Linked DNA regions of Homo sapiens: region 1 is linked to region 2. Evidence: promoter capture Hi-C in human tissues and cell types (Jung and others, 2019). All regions are on one chromosome and are shown on one strand. Each heading gives the region's core, a stretch centred on a gene start or on the middle of the fragment in contact. The rest is flanking DNA. Distances are from core to core; before and after follow the strand shown.

Region 1 (4,152 bases), core at 254-2,753, 490 kb after region 2:
ACTCTAGGAAGTACACACCACACTATTCAGTCAGTCAGTCAGTCACTCAGTCACTCAGTCCAACAGTCAACAAATAATCACTGAACATCTACCATATACTAAGCCTCACTAAGCTTCTTTGGGGTCCCCTAACTAAACACAATGAAGAAAAAGGGGGAAATTATACAATTAGAAAAATAGTTCTTTCCCTGAGGGGCTTACAATTAACTTGCTGACATGAGACACTTTGTAGCATAAAGCTGTATAATTTTAAAATGCCACAGTCAAGAGTGAAAGAGTCCTGATTTATAGTAATAACCCTGCTACTAACTAGTTATGAGACCTAGGCCAAAGTCACTATTTCTCTCTGTGCTTCAGTTTCCTCCTCTGACAAATGACATAATTAAGTTCAATTATCTCAACTGATTTGGTAGTTATCAATAAAAGCAAAATGGAATCCAATTCTAGGTTTGTATGCCCAAGTCAAATCTCTCTATGTGGTCCCCAGGGGCCTGCTGGGAGGAGTGGGTTACCTGGCATCAATCACTGAAGCTAGGTTTTCAGCTTCCATCCTCTGGAAGACATGTGGGAGCTGCACCAGGACATGACTGATAGAGCCTGTCATTGGGACATTCCTCACGGCCACCTGCCAGTAGTCAACAAGAGCGTTAGGTGGACAGCCATCCCCTTCTTGACCAGAAGCTATCGCCTCCTTCTACCTCAGGACCCAAACAATAAACAGTGCTCATGAAGATACTGAGGAAACAAGACGAGAACCCACCTGGCCTTGCATGTTGACACAGTACTTGTTGAACACTGAGTTGATCTGGGCATCCTGAAGGGCCCCAAATAGCAGTGTCTGGCGATAGTACTTGGACCAATTATTGAGGCTCCACATCCGCACTCGAGAAAAGTCTACCCCATGTGAGTCCAGGGGTAGTAGGTTCATGTGATTCATCAAATGCTTTGAGTGGAAATAATATTACCATTAGTGTTGACTGAGAGCATTTACATGTTGGACATTGCTAAACATTTTCCGAGTCTATCAACTCATGTACTATCATCTCCTAAATTATAACAAGAAAACTGAGGCTCACATGGGTGAGTGACTTGCCCATGGTCAGCCAAACATCCCCAATGAGGAGATAAGCTAAAACTGGCCCTCCTGGAATTTTAACAAATGATCAAAATGGTACCTACAGGAATGTTCCTTTAAAATGAACTTCTGAAATGCCACACTGGTCTCTCTATGGGTCCCTAAGTCCCAGACTTGGACAAGAAGGGAAATGCCATGGAAAACAGAGCTGCTGTCCCTCAATTACCTGGTTCTCAAAACATTAGGAATAGTTGCAGTGTCACCCTGTCTTTTCCTCAAATCTAAGAATATAACTCGACTATGCCAAATGCCTTTTCCATTTTAATTATATTTTTACCTTGTAATAGATATTGAAGGGTAATGAGTACAATAAATTTATTTCCTACTTTAGAAGTAAGTTCTACCCTTCATTTGTCCCAAACTTCCTGCAAGCTTCAAGACATGGGGTTGTAGAAGGGGTGAGTTCCCATATGCCTTAGAAAAATAAACCTATAGTTCCTAAATAAGGATTGTTCCAAAGCAGTTTTTCAGTCCTAAAACTGATAACACTGCAGAGTGTGTGGAGAAGGAGAAAAAAATTACAGTACAAATTACATCGGGTAATAAAGACATCCTATATTTCTCTACAAAACAAGATCCCACCTTAAAAAATCTTGAGCAGGGTATTCCCATCTTCACCAAAGACCAAACAAAACAGCATAAGCAAAAACCACATGTGGGATTATGTTAGGTAAAGATGTTCCTGGTGAGGACCCATCCATCCATCAACCTATCCCATCCACCCATCCACCCACCCTAAAGTTAGTAGAAAGAAATTTTAAGGGAAAGAAATCTTTTCTGGAGATTTGAAAATGACTGACAGGAATTTTAATCTGTAGACAGTTTAATTATGGACAATCTCTGGGTAGAAAAGGGGACAAAAGACTTTTTCAAATTAGAAAATGTGGAGTGTGTGTCCTTGCTTCCAAACAAGAGTTCTAATCTGGACTTAAATAATTCTTTAGGACTTAAACCACTGGGTGTCTTATCCCTCTAAATATGAATACTGTCCCACTGAATGTGAATGGCCAGCATTACCAGGACATGCTCCCAGTTCTGCATCAGGTAAATGTCAGCTTGATCAATGATGAGAAGCTCGATAGAAGACAGAAAGTCAAAATCTCTCTTCTTCTCTCCTTCTCCACCAATGATGGTCCTCAAGCCCAGGGGGGAAGCAATGAGGATATCCGAGGAGTAAAACGGGGCATAGAGTCGGATGCTTCTCTGAAGTATTGCCACTCCTACACAAAACAGCCAAGTACACACCAATTCATTAGTCACTACCAAGCCATTACCTTCCACCCTCTCAAAGCAGTCCACCACTTCTATTGCTTCCACATCTCTTTTGTTCCTCTTAGCATGTAACTGTGCTCAACTGCTTTAATTATTAAAACATAAGAACAAGAGAAATCTCTCCCTTGCATCTATAGTCCCTTCTAGCTTCTACCTTCTCTTCCTTTCCGTCACTATCAAACTGCTCCAGAGAATTCTCTCTACTTTCAAATCTCTCCTTCACTTCTCACTCCACTGCAATCCGGCCTCTGATTCTCAGGACTCCAGAGAAATGACTCTTGCTAAGGTCCCCACAGTCCTCAGTCACCAACAGGATGAACACTTTTGAGAGCTTCTTATGAGGAAAGTACAAACGGCACAGAATGTACTAACAGCTGCCTTGCAATGCTCTTTTCCTTGCTAATAGTTTCCATGACTTCAACTCTCACTTTTGCTTCTATCACTGACCTGGCCCTTGTCTGTCCTTCCAGATCCAAATAACTCTTCTGCAAACTGGTGGATTCACTTGTCAGCTCTGCTCTCGTGCTGCATAAAGCTTTGGGTTAACTGACTCACTGATCATGGCTTTAATGTCACCTTCACACAAATGTGTATTTCCAGCCCATATCTTTTTCCTGAGCTCCAGAACAATATACCAACTGCTTCCTGGACAGCTATATATGTTCCAAACAAAACACGAGCTCTTGTCTCCTTATGCCTTACATTCCACCATACCGAAGCCTGTGTGAATCATAGGTCATTCCAAGCTTAGTCACCCTGATGCCTCTGCAACAGGCAGTTTCCTGTCTGAAATGTTTTCCTCCACTCAGCCACCTCCCTTTGAAACTGGCTGAATCCTACACAGGTTTCCACCTAGTACAGATGACACCTCCACCACGACATCTTCCCTAACCACCCTGCCCCCATTTTGGGTAAGGGGGTTTGCTTTAAATGCTCCGAGAACAACCGTTGCACACATATCCTGCACTGCCTGCTCTGTCGTAGGCTGGATTTCCTTAGCAATGGGAACTATAACTTTTATTTCTATATTTATCTGTAGATTCCCAGCTTCTTAACAGTGCCTGGCACACTGTAGATACTCAATAAGTATTTGTGAATGAGCATATGTGACTAATGAACATTTCCCCAAGAACTTTACTCTATAAAAGGTATAACCAACCAAAGTCAATGGGAGCTGAATGAGAGACAAGCAAAAATGTGAAAATTTGGGTGGAAGTCATGTGTGGAGATTATTCAGGGTAGGCATCTATGTAGCACACAGGAGAAAGTCCACCTTTATGTAGAGACAGTCATTTTATTCAGCCTCCCCAGAATGACCCCATCAGCCCCATCACTTCCAACATCCTAGAGAACCCCTTGTAGCATCTATCTGCTACCAGCTATGGGTGTGCTTTCACACTTCTGTTATAAACTTGCTATAAATTTCTGTTATAAATGTACATGTGCCTTTCATATATGGCCTCAGAGATCCTCCCGACTCCACTGGCCTAATGTCCACCCCATTAGCCAAGGCAAGACTCTCCCATGGCAAACAACATGTCTCAAAGGCACACTGGTTCTGTTAAAGAGGCACAGTGAGTGATCCACTGGGAAAATATCTAATTCCAGCTTCTGGTCTCCAGCTATGTAGACCTTCACACTTTAGGTCTCAAAGTTGATAAGGAAGAATTACCAATCCTGAAGTGGTCATCAATATTGCCCACAAATACGGCTTCATAATCCTCAGGCCTCTTCAAGTTGGGTGG
Region 2 (4,045 bases), core at 1,372-3,871:
TGCTAGAAGAGGACCAACTGTTTGAGATAGCAAATGACCGGGCCCTAGAAGTATGTTTAAGACAACTTCAAATATCCATACATTCTGGATTAAAGTCAAGGCAAAGTATCCTGAAATTGCCACAAAAGCACCGAAAAGCCTGCTTCCATTTCCAACATCCTATCTTTGTGAAGCAGGGTCTTCTGCAGTGACAGCAACCAAAATGAGACTATGAAGTAGGCTGGACATAAGCAAACACACTTTGGGTGTCAATGTCTACCAACACACCCCCCCAGATGGGACTGCCTAGTTGCAGAAAAACAAGCTCAGGGGTCCCACTGATTCTACTCTATGGTGAGTTGTATTCATATTACAATGTAATAATAATAGAAATAAAGTCCACAATAAATGTAATGCAGGTGGGGCATGGTGATTCACACCTGTAATCCCAGCACTTTGGGAGGCCAAGGAGAGGATGGCTTGAGCTCAGGAGTTCGAGCTCAGGAATTTGAGACCAGCCTGGTTGACATGGTGAAATCCTGTCTCTACTAAAAATACAAAAATTAGCCAGATGTGGTGTCGCATGCCTGTAAGCTACTCCGGAGGCTGAGGCACGAGAATTGCTTGATCCCCAGAGGTGGAGGTTGCAGTGAGCCAGTATCGTGCCACTGCACTCCAGCCTGGGTGACCCAGCGAGACTCTTGTCTCAAAACAAATAAATAAAATAAATGTAACGTGCTTGAATTATCCCAACACCATCCCCCTTCCCCCAGTCCATGAAAAACTTATTGTCCATGAAACCGGTCCTTGGTGCCAAAAAGGTTGGGGACCACTGCTTTAGGGAACATTCCCCCTGGGCCAGGTCCTAAGCTGGAAGCAGGGGGTGCAGGTAAGGCCCATGCTCGCAAGTTCCTGATGCTACCTACAGAGCTCCCACCAACATCTGGCCACCCACAAAAACGGCTGCTCCCTCCAAAGAATTGACTTTCACCCTAAGTTCATCCATCTAACCTACTTCCAAGGAGGGGGCAAAGTAAACAGTAGATAAAGCACAGGCGTTGATCCAAAAGAGGAGTCCAAAACCCGGCCCTGACATGTACTAGTTTGTGGCTTTGGCTCCCCTCCAAGGCTTTCTCTATCCTACTGTGAAAAGAGATAACAACACTTATCTTTCCCAGTTACTGTAAGGTTTAGAAATAATGTATCTAAAGCACCTAATAAGCACACAGTCTCCTTAAATTAACATTAATTGAATCTCTCAGGTCAGAGCTGTCCTTATCAAACAATCACAATTAGGGACTGACTGGCAACGAGAAAGGAGGGAGAAAAATCACAGGGAAAATGGAACATGAGGAATGGAAGGGGAAAAAAATCATTCCTCAAAGTCTCCTTCAATGAACTACCGCCTCTTCAATGAAGCCTTCCCTCTCCTCTCCTTGCATTCCCATAGCACTTAATCACATTGAAATAGGTCCTTAGCTCTGAGAATGAATGAGATGCCAGGCACGGTGGCTCACGCCTGTAATCCCAGCACTTTGGGAGGTCGAGGTGGGCAGATCACCCGAGGTCAGGAATTCGAGACCAGCCTGGCCAACACGGTGAGACCCTCGTCTCTACTAAAAATACAAAATTAGGTGGGCGTGGTGGCGCATGCCTGTAATCCCAGCTACTCAGGAGGCAAGGCTGGAGAATCGCTTGAAACCGGGATGCTGAGGTTGCAGTGAGCTGAGATTGTGCCATTGCACTCCAGCCTGGGCGACCAGAGCGAAACTCCGCCTCAAAAACACAAACAACAACAAAAACAGAAAGAGAAGCAATGTCTCACTCCCACGTAATGCAAACCTCTGAGGATGCCAAATGCCCTAGCCCTACAACCCTGATCCAAGAGCAATGTACACAGGTAGCAGCACATTTCTTAACACCAATGCTACCCGTAAAGTACCTCTGGTGAGGATTAGCGGGAGGGTTTTTCCGCATAAAGACCTGCCACCTGAAGGTTAGACTCAGAACAGAGGAAGAAAACTGAGTCCTGAAGATAGAACGCAAAGGAAGTCTCTAACTTTAGAGTCCCTGGAGTCACAGCAGGCAGGCAGGCGCACCGCCGATACTGCCAAGAGGACCAGAGTTCGCAACTCCCCGCAGCAGTTCCGGAAGCTGGGGACGAAGCCAAGGAGAGAGGACGTGGGCAGGGCCGTGCGCGGACTTGTCCCGGCGCCTAGATCCCCGCCTTTGCCCGGGCGCACTGCGCGCGCGGCCCCCGCCGCTTTTGTCTTCTTCGCCCGACCGGGAACTTCCTCTGTCCCGCCCTCGGGCGCGCACACGGGAACTTGGGTAGGAAACGGAAAGCGTTTTGTGCATTTTTTTTTTAACAGAGTAAACTGACGCAGAAAATTCAGCATCTAACCTCCCCAGGACCCCCTATGGTCACCAGTTACCAACCTCCGGGCTGTCCCGGGCGGCGGCGACGGCAACGTTCACGCGCGCCGCGAGTTCCCAACACCCCTCTTTCGGCACTTCCGAGTCCCAGCGACATCGGCGGCGGCTGCGGGCTTCCCCGGGACGCCACCCTCTTTCCCCCGGAGCTGCCCTTTGGAGGAGCAGCGCAGCGCGCGTCCTCCGAGCACGCCCCTGCCGCCGTGCCCGCGCGCCCTCCGCGCCCGGACTCGGGAACCCGCGGCGCTCTCCGGGCGATGGCGAGCAGGCCGTGCTGCTGCAGGGGGCGGGCCAGAGCGCGGCCTGCGTTTCTGAACCGCGTTTGCCCCGCCGGCGGCCCGGGGCCCCTAGCCCCGCTCACCCCTCGGCTGTTGGTTCCCACTGACCCTGGCGTGCATATCTCTCCCCCACCCGTGTGTTCATTGCAGGTCTGGGGCTGCCTGCAAGTTAATTGCAGAGTGGAAGTCACCTGAAACTCGAGGTGGGCCGTCATTCCAACACCAGTGGTCCCCACCTACGTTTTGTAGGCGAAAGGAGGTAGTTCGGTGCGGTGGAAAGAGGGTGGGCTTTGCAGCCCTGGCAGCTTCGAGGGCTTACTGTGTGAACTTAGCCCCTGTGAGCCTCCCTGTACACCTCTGTAAAACAGAAATAGACTTCCCTGCTTTTCTTTGTAAATTAGAGTGAAGATCAAATAGAATAAACTTTATGAATTGTAAAGCAACTTACAGAGATCACTACTGCAAAATGGGTACGAAGATTTTGATTGCGTTGTGAAAAGAGTGGAAGATCTGAAGATGCTCCAACGGGGTATAATTGGGACGATGTTGCTGCTCGGAGGCCTCCAAGCCTGAGCCAAGAGACAGGCTTGCCAGAGTTCTCCAGACTTATCTCAGCAGAATCACGTGGCTCTCATTAAAACCTCGGGCTTCTGGATCCCTCCCCAAACCAAAAGCATCAGACTGTCCATGGCAGGGGCGTCTCAGGTGGTTCTATGATAAGGTGAAGGTGGATAACTCTGCCCTAGGCAGCAGGGAAACTCGGAAGCTGTGCTCTCAGAAATTTCATCTAGCAGTCATTGTAATGGTCGAGAGGATTATTTTAATGATTTTAGAATTCTCCAGGAAACCAGAGTATGAACTCTCCAAGAGCTGGAGCTATCTTTTCTTTCTGCTTCCCCCCAACCCACTCACCCCAAAACCTGGTACTGGATGGTGTTCAGTAAGCAGGTGTTAGTAAACTAGCCCCAAATAGGAGTGCCAGATTTAGCAAATAAAAATACAGCATACTCAATTAAAATTGAATTTCAGGCTGGGCGCGGTGGCCCACGCCTGTAATCTCAGCACTTTAGGAGCGGTAGCAGGAGGATCACTTGAGGCCAGGAGTTTGAGACCAGCCTGGCCAACATGGTGAGACCCCGTCTCTACTAAAAATACAAAAATTAGCCGGGTGTGGTGGCCTGCACCTGTAATCCCAGCCACTTGGGAGGCTGAGGCACGAGAATCGCTTGAACCCGGGCGGCAGAGGTTGCAGTGAGCTCAGATCGCACCACTGCACTCCAACCTGGGTGACTGAGCCGGACTCTGTCTCAAAAAAATAAGTAAATAATTTCAGGTGAACAATATGTAACTTTTTA

What was found. The method cuts DNA at HindIII sites, captures the fragments that hold promoters and counts their contacts. A contact is called where the count stands out against the background at its distance.
Region 1: a fragment that was not itself captured here is called in contact with the fragment with the promoter of HHAT in region 2 in 1 of the 25 tissues and cell types used here (dorsolateral prefrontal cortex).

The regions. Positions count from the first base shown.
Region 1 is chr1:209,839,056-209,843,207 of GRCh38, reverse strand. UTP25 (UTP25 small subunit processome component) reads right to left here. Exons shown (of 12, transcript NM_014388.7): 7 at 4,080-4,152; 8 at 2,153-2,355; 9 at 761-943; 10 at 513-625. Among named protein-coding and RNA genes, the nearest start is that of UTP25, 13 kb to the right of the region's middle. RefSeq lists an enhancer at 3,110-3,404. The HindIII fragment of the contact is 3,091 bases long and covers 1-3,048 here.
Region 2 is chr1:210,327,478-210,331,522 of GRCh38, reverse strand. HHAT (hedgehog acyltransferase) reads right to left here and starts at 2,621. Exons shown (of 12, transcript NM_018194.6): 1 at 2,419-2,621. RefSeq lists enhancers at 763-932, 2,045-2,404, 3,279-3,448 and a silencer at 2,565-2,814. The HindIII fragment of the contact is 7,053 bases long and covers 1-4,045 here.